2 separate regions of the Homo sapiens genome follow, and region 1 is linked to region 2. Evidence: promoter capture Hi-C in 16 types of primary human blood cells and fetal thymus (Javierre and others, 2016). All regions are on one chromosome and are shown on one strand. The core of a region is centred on a gene start or on the middle of the fragment in contact, and the rest is flanking DNA. Distances in the headings are between cores, read along the strand shown. Region 1 overlaps TPMT (thiopurine S-methyltransferase). Region 2 holds the start of KIF13A (kinesin family member 13A).

Region 1 (3,578 bases), core at 378-2,877, 160 kb before region 2:
GAGTATGCATGCATTTTTTGGGAGTTGATTTTCAAGTAGAGATGATAGAATTTTTGCAGCCAGCAACCAATCAACTGTAGCTGAGAGCCTTTGTTAGAGGGCTGCTATGACTTTAAGATTCAAGTGTGGTCATGAAATTGAGAATATTTAAACTATATTATGACATATATTTTAACCAATTCATTGAGCCAGAAGAGATAGTTACTTTCAAAATTACCCTCAAAAAAAATTAACTCTATAAACAGATTGTCATGTGATGTCACCATAAATGGTAACAATGTAGTACAAACAGGTTCTGAGGCAACATTAGGAAAATGGTATGAAATAGCCAATTAAATGTGATTGTTGAATATTTGGGGTCTAAAGCCATTTGTAATAAAGACATTACAAAAAATATCAGAACTGGCCAGGTGCGGTGGCTCACACCTTTAATTAGGTGAGCGGATCACTTGAGGTCAGGAGTTCGAGACCAGCCTGGCCAACATGGTGAAAACCCATCTCTACTAAAAATACAAAAATTAGCCAGGCATGGCAGCGTACGCTTGTAATCCCAACTACCTGAGAAGCTGAAGCAGGAGAATTGCTTGAATCCAGGAGGCGGAGGTTGCAATGAGCCCATGCACTCCAGCCTAGGTGACAGAGTGAGACTCTGTCTCCAAAAAATATATATATATGTATATATACGTAAATACAGTTATTTTTATGTATATATATATATGAACTGAGCTACTGTAATTACATGTAAGAAGTTAAGAAGTTATGATAGTAGATGATTTTTCATTTATGTAACTGATCTATGTATTGAGGTCTATACAGACATGAGATGTGAATAGAAAAACTGACCATGAGCTAAGGCCAAAAAGCATTAAAACAAAATGTTTAAGATATTTAGGTTTAGGTTTTTGGTTTTTTGAGACAGTCCCACTCTGTCACCCAGGGTGGAGTGCAGTGGCATGATCATAGCTCACTGCAACCTTGAACTCCTGGGCTCAAGAGATCCTCCCTCCCAACATGCTGGGATAACAGGCATAAGCCACCACACTTGGTCTTATTTTGTTTTTATTACAGGTTGTAGTAGGCTATGCTTCATTTTTCCATCTGTTGAATGGGAAATAAAAACACATACAGCCAATTTGAATAATGTTTTTGTTTACATTTTATAACTTAAAAAATGTAGGGAGAATTTTTAAACTCCCTGTATGTTTACAGATATCCTAAGAAATACGAAAGATGAAAGACAAGTTATATGTTTCATTTTACAACTAAACAGTTCATGCTCTGCCCACATTGAAAGTACGTACTCTTTTGTAGATAAAAGGTACAGTCAGTCCTGCTATACTTGTTTCAAAACTGAATTCTAACTCAATTGATATATTAGGGAAAAATTTGAGCATGAAATAAATTTCACATTTGCTTGTGTGTGATTTCATCTATAAGAAGCCTTAGGTAAAAGCAGAAAACTGCACCCAGTTGAACTAAACCAGGTATGAATAGATGGAATGCACCAACATCCCCCAGCTACCTTAGTGAGCATTAGGTCTTTTTCACCGTAAAGTGCCATATTGTAGTATTTATCTATTTCTCAACCATTTAACATGTATAAAACTGTTATTATTAGGTTCCTGTTTTTGTTTTTTAATGTGGCACTGACCAAGTTTTTAAATGCTGTGCCCTCACTTTCCCCACCAGCCTGGGGATTTTTAGTGCGTGATTTAGCATAGTGCAGTGATTTTAGGAAGGCACTTGTTACATTATAGCAGAACTATGTTTTTATTTCACTTGACATAAAATCATAACTGTGCCTAGATATTTGTACCACTGGTACTGTTTTCTCTTGAGTCCAAGATCCTGAGACTGAATTCTGTTCATTATAAAACTTACCAGGACTGTAATCCCAGCACTTTGGGAGGCTGAGGCAGGCAGATCATTTGAGGTCAGGAGTTCGAGACCAGCCTGGCCAACACGGTGAAACCCCGTCTCTACTAAAAATACAAAAATTAGCCGGGTATGGTGGGGCACACCTGTAATCCCAGCTACTCTGGAGGCTGAGGCAGGAGAATTGGTTGAACTCGGGAGGTGGAGGTTGCAGTGAGCTGAGATTGTGCCACTGTACTCCAGCCTGGCTGACAGAGTGAGATTCTGTCTCAAAAAAAAAATTTTTTTTGAGGAAAAAATTTTCCTCTTTTCCTCAAAATTACCAGGAAAAGCCCGGGTGTGGTGGCTCACGCCTGTAATCCCAGCACTTTGGGAGGCTGAGGCAGGTGGATCACCTGAGTTCGGGAGCTCGAGACCAGCCTGGCCAACATGGTGAAACCCCGTCTCTACTAAAAATACAAAAATTAGCCAGGCATGGTGACAGGCACCTGTAATCCCAGCTACTCAGGAAGCTGAGACAGGAGAATCGCTTGAACCCAGGAGGTGGAGATTGCAGTGAGCCGAGATTGTGCCATTGCACTCCATCCAGCCTGGGCAACAAAGTGAGACTCCGTCTCAAAAATAAATAAATAAATAAATAAAATTACCAGGACAATGCTATTTGTATATGATAAAATATACAAATTTTTGGATAGTGTTTATTTTAAGCAAATGGAAACTACAAGATTAGTATACAAATGAGTGCTAATGTTCTAGACCTGTTCACTTTAGTACAGTAGCTACTAGCCACATGTGGCTATTTAAATGTAAACTAAATAAAATGTAAAATTCAGTTCCTCAATCACGAGGAACCAATGTGGCTAATGCCTATTTTATTGGACAGCGACAGATATAGACATTTTCATCAATGCAGAAAATTTTAATGGGCAGTGCTGATTTAGAGAAATTGAAAAGCATTTCCTCTAGTCAAATCAATTTGTATTAAATCAGTATTTTGTTATATATCTATAATTACATTCCAACTGTTTCATACATAAAAAAAGATATATATAATTTTCCAAATTTTTATTGTTTCCTGAATTCATATAAGTCAGTTTTTCAGAATTTTTATAAGGTTTGAAAATAATATAGATCTGCTTTCCTGCATGTTCTTTGAAACCCTATGAACCTGAATTCATATAAATTCCTCTAAATTAAAGAAAATATATGCTTACTCTAATATAACCCTCTATTTAGTCATTTGAAAACATAATTTAAGTGTAAATGTATGATTTTATGCAGGTTTGCAGACCGGGGACACAGTGTAGTTGGTGTGGAAATCAGTGAACTTGGGATACAAGAATTTTTTACAGAGCAGAATCTTTCTTACTCAGAAGAACCAATCACCGAAATTCCTGGAACCAAAGTATTTAAGGTTTGTTTTGATTTGGGTAAATAATTGTATCCATATCCCCACAAAAGTTTTTCTCAGTGTGAGTATTATGAGGATACCATTCATGTGTCCGATGGTTCCTATTTAGCACGCAGATTCACTGTAGATACTATATAGTATAAGAAGCAAGGGCTTAAAAATATAGGTGATAGCTACCTAAATAGGTATAGACATATGTATATAAAAGCTGAGGTCAAAGCCTCTCTGTACTCAAGCTTTTAGGCTTGTTTTATTTTTATTAACACGCATTTTCTGAGAACCCATCATGTGC
Region 2 (4,029 bases), core at 138-2,637:
CTCCCACCTCAGCCTCTCCAGTAACTAAGACTACAGGCACCTGCCACCATGCCCGGCTATTTTTTAAATTTTTATGTTTGGCAAGATGGGGTTTCTTTACATTGCCCAGGCTGGTCTCGAACTCCTGGCCTCAAGTGATCCTCCCGCCTCGGCCTCCCAAAGTGTTGGGATTACAGGCGTAAGGCACTGTGCCAGAGCACGAATACTGTATTTTCAATCAGATTTTGGTTGAAAAAAAGCCACGTGTAAGTGGACTCGTGCAGTTCAAACCCGTGTTGTTCGAGGGTCAAGCGTAGCATCACCTCGGTTGGAGGCGGACGGACCCCTCTCCTAGCACCTGCCGTACACTGTCTAGCATAATAAGTCTCCACGCCCTCTCTTCCACCTTAGCGTGTGCCTCTGCATCATGCTATTCATGTTTCTGTGTGTCCTCAACAGCACCCTGCACACAGTAAAACCTCAATGCATCTTCCAATAAGTGGATTTCTAGATTTAAGCAAAATCGAAAGATTCCTGGATCTAAACTCTGGATTTTTGACTTCTGTACGCTTCAAAATGCCTGGCACTCGGTGAGCGCCCCTTAAGCACTTGTTGAACCAAACAGAATAAATCGGATTCGCCCAGTTCCGCCCTGGCAGCGAGGTCTGCATTTGGCAGGATGACAGAATCCATTGCTATTAAATTCTTATGTAAGAGTTAATGGCCCTCCCAGCCCACTTGACATCCCTCCCGAGACAAGAGAGGCCGGGAAAGGAAGGGAGAGCACTATTTACAAACATACACTGTTTCGGTGGTGGATTCACAGATTCATTTCTAGTCTCGGTTCACCACAGAGATCTTAAAATACCGCTGCAGGCTCCGTGTGGGACAGAGGGGGCGGCGTGCCGGGACTCGGAGGGGAAGGCCTGCGCACCCAGCGCGGCGAGCCGTGGTCCTTGCTGCCGTCCCGGGGCTCCGGGTGGCAGCGGCCCCAGAAGGCGGCTCGAGCTCACGGCGGTGTCCGGGGGGGGGCCCCGCGGGCGCCGGTGCAGGCTTGGCCTGGGAGGTCCCCTGGGGAAACAATGCGTCCCGCCCCGGACTCCAGCCTCCCCTAAGCGCCGCGCTGCTCGCCGCTCCTCTCACTGCCGTCCCGCCGCTCCAGGGGGCGCCGCGCGTGGCCGTGTCCGGCCTCTCCCGAGCCCCGGCGGGTGACGGGCGCGGAACATGGCGGCGCGGGGCCCCGGGCAGCCGCGAGGGGCCGCGGCGCTGCGGTCTCGGCTGGGGCGGCGCGGCTAGAGCTGCGCCTGGGCCCGCCGGCGAGGCCTCCTCCCCGCCCGCCGCCGCCGCCGCCGCCGCCGCGCCCCGCCCCGCGCGCCCGCCCCTCCCCGGGCCGCGGCCGTGCCCCGCGTCGCGCTCCCCCGGGATGGCCCGCGCGCCTCGGCGCTGCCTCTCGGAGCTCACGGCGGAGCGGCGGCGGCCGCGCTCGAGGGGCGCGCGGCTGCAGCGGCGGCGGCGCCGCGCGTGAGGGGCCGCCTAAGGCCGAGCGGGCGCGGCGAGCGGCCGGGCGAGCGCAGCCAACATGTCGGATACCAAGGTAAAAGTTGCCGTCCGGGTCCGGCCCATGAACCGACGAGGTGAGGAGCTTTCCGCTCTTTTTTATTTCTGCTCGGGCTGAGGGCGGGGGCAACTTTAGAAACTGCGGGGCCGGGACGGCGAGAGCGCGGCCGGGGCCGGGGGGCCGGGGCGGAGGCGGCGTCCGCGCTGGCCGTGGTGCCCGGGGCGCCGTCTCCAGGCTCGGCCGCCTCCAGGGACGGAGCCCCGCTCGGCGCGGCTGGCGGGCGGGCGGGCTGGAGGCGCGGATGCTGGACTTTGCAACGTCCCTTTCTCTCTGCTTTCAGAACTGGAACTGAACACCAAGTGCGTGGTGGAGATGGAAGGGAATCAAACGGTCCTGCACCCTCCTCCTTCTAACACCAAACAGGGAGAAAGGTAAAGCGGGTTCCGAGAGGGCGGCTGGGAGGATCCAGCCTCGCGGGGTCCCGCAAGTTTGAGCCAGGAAAATGGGAGTGCTCTTTCCTATTGTTAGGAGGACGGCTTCAAGTTTGTCGCCGGCTCCTGTTTGAAGCTGTTGCAAGTCCAAGTTCCTCTCCTCCCTCGCCCCCCTTCTCCTCCATCTAGAGCGGCGGCAGGCAGGGCACCCTGGCCACAGCACCAGTCAGCTGAGCCCGGGCGGGCTGCGAGGCACCCGGGAGGGAGAGGGCCGGATGGGACCCCATAGGTGATTCGTCCAGCGGCCACATTTTACAGACAGGAAAACTGAGGCCCGAGGCGGGCAGGTGACCAGCCCACGACCTTATTGTTCGTGGAACCCAGTGTCCGTGATTCTTTTCATCACTGCAGGGTTTGTTTCCTTTGGCAGAATTGTTTAGGGACAGTGTGTCTAAAATGGGAGGAAAAAATAAAGCAAAAGTCTTGTACGATGTAGACTCAGGCTGGACTAGTTAGTATCTATTTTAGTTGTTGTTGCTGAGTTGAGATAATGCCTCAATGTAATGCGCGAATTTTGATTTTCAAAGAAACAAAAGTAGGGCCCTGAACTGTATAGACACTGAGGGATGTTTAAAAAGGGGCTGTATTTACTAGATGGCAACATATTTGCATTTGAAAAGTGGTAACTGTTGGATCCTTATTAATTCCGTTCTGTTCCATGCAACAGTATGGGTTAACGCCCCAAAATAATTTGAATATTTGGCATTTTTCTAGTAAGCCTCTGAGAAGAAATCGGTTGGAATTCATTCAATATAATAATGCAGTAGCTTGTAAATATATATATGTGAAAAAACGGGAGAGTTTACAATATTAATTTTCATTGGAAATGAATATGAGTTTGTGTTTCCACGAATCACCTGTTGATCGATGGAATACAATTTAGTGAATTTCCTTCTTCAGAGATTTTCACTGAAGAGAGACTCTGAAGCAGGGTTTGTGACATTATTGCTTAGAGAAGCAATGCCTCCATTCTATAATGTGTGGTGTTCAAGCTCAGTTTTGCCAAATTTGGGGAAAGAAATCATGAGGCGATAAGATTGGGGATTCTTTGCTTTTCGTGTTGAGCATAGCAGTTTTTATCCAGTTTGCAAACATTCTGCTACCTTTAGCAGATTCTGGTGGTGATATTAAATAGCTAAGCTATATGTAAAATGTTGTGTTTAACACTGAATGTAGTGTTTATTGTACATTGTACTGAATGTTGTCTAGTAATGGATGTATTTTTAGATGCATTTATAGCAGTGTAGATAGTATAGCATATTTCATGGTGATAGTAAGTAAACTCATTGAGTACATTAAATATTTACAGATTAAATTAGATGCCCATATCACCAACGAATGTCCCCTCCCCCCACCCCCCCGCAAACTGCATATTGTTTCGGGAAAAAATTCTGTTGGGTCAGATTCTTGAAAGCAGTCTGGGGGAACAGGTAGAATACTTTTTAGCTCCTGTTGTGTAGCCGTTACTTGTTTTCCTTGCTGGCTTGGCACCTGCTCCTTGTCACTCTTAACCATAAGCAGTGCGACTGTTAGCTACTGTTTAATGACATGAAGTGTTGTCATTTGTGAAGAGAAACAGATTTGATTTTGTGGGATTTGGTACAATCTATAACTGTGGACAGTTGGTTCCAAATGCTAAGTAATCAGTTGATCATTTTTCGGGCTGAACCACGTTAGTTACTAATCAGGATCTTTTAGGTAAAGATTTGAAGGGTGATTTTGGGATCTATTCATCTGCTTACTTACGATAGTCCCTTATCTGGAGTTATAAAAATAGCATTGAAATATGGGTACTCTCGTGTTTTGTCCTTCTGACGGATCTAATTCTTTGAATAGCAGATGAGCTTTCTGTGGGATTCTGTCTTGAGTACCGGTCATTTCATTTACAGACAAACTGAGTAGTCAACAAAACAGTGCTCCTTGTACATTAGGATTACTGTCTTTGCACAGATGAAGACACCAAATGCATTTTTATTTTCATTATGCAGCTTGGTTTCATAT

Evidence for each region. Contacts are between HindIII fragments. The CHiCAGO score rates a contact against its expected background, and 5 or more counts as called.
Region 1: a contact is called between a fragment that was not itself captured here and the fragment with the promoter of KIF13A in region 2, in 2 of 17 cell types (neutrophils and megakaryocytes). The highest score is 6.5, in neutrophils.

What each region holds. Positions count from the first base shown.
Region 1 is chr6:18,143,307-18,146,884 of GRCh38, reverse strand. It overlaps TPMT (thiopurine S-methyltransferase), which reads left to right. Exons shown (of 9, transcript NM_000367.5): 4 at 3,157-3,289. Among named protein-coding and RNA genes, the nearest start is that of TPMT, 10 kb to the left of the region's middle. RefSeq lists an enhancer at 1-165. The HindIII fragment of the contact is 3,795 bases long and covers 1-3,524 here.
Region 2 is chr6:17,984,993-17,989,021 of GRCh38, reverse strand. KIF13A (kinesin family member 13A) reads left to right here and starts at 1,387. Exons shown (of 39, transcript NM_022113.6): 1 at 1,387-1,613; 2 at 1,878-1,968. The coding sequence starts at 1,559. RefSeq lists silencers at 812-1,311, 1,682-1,801. The HindIII fragment of the contact is 11,131 bases long and covers 1-4,029 here.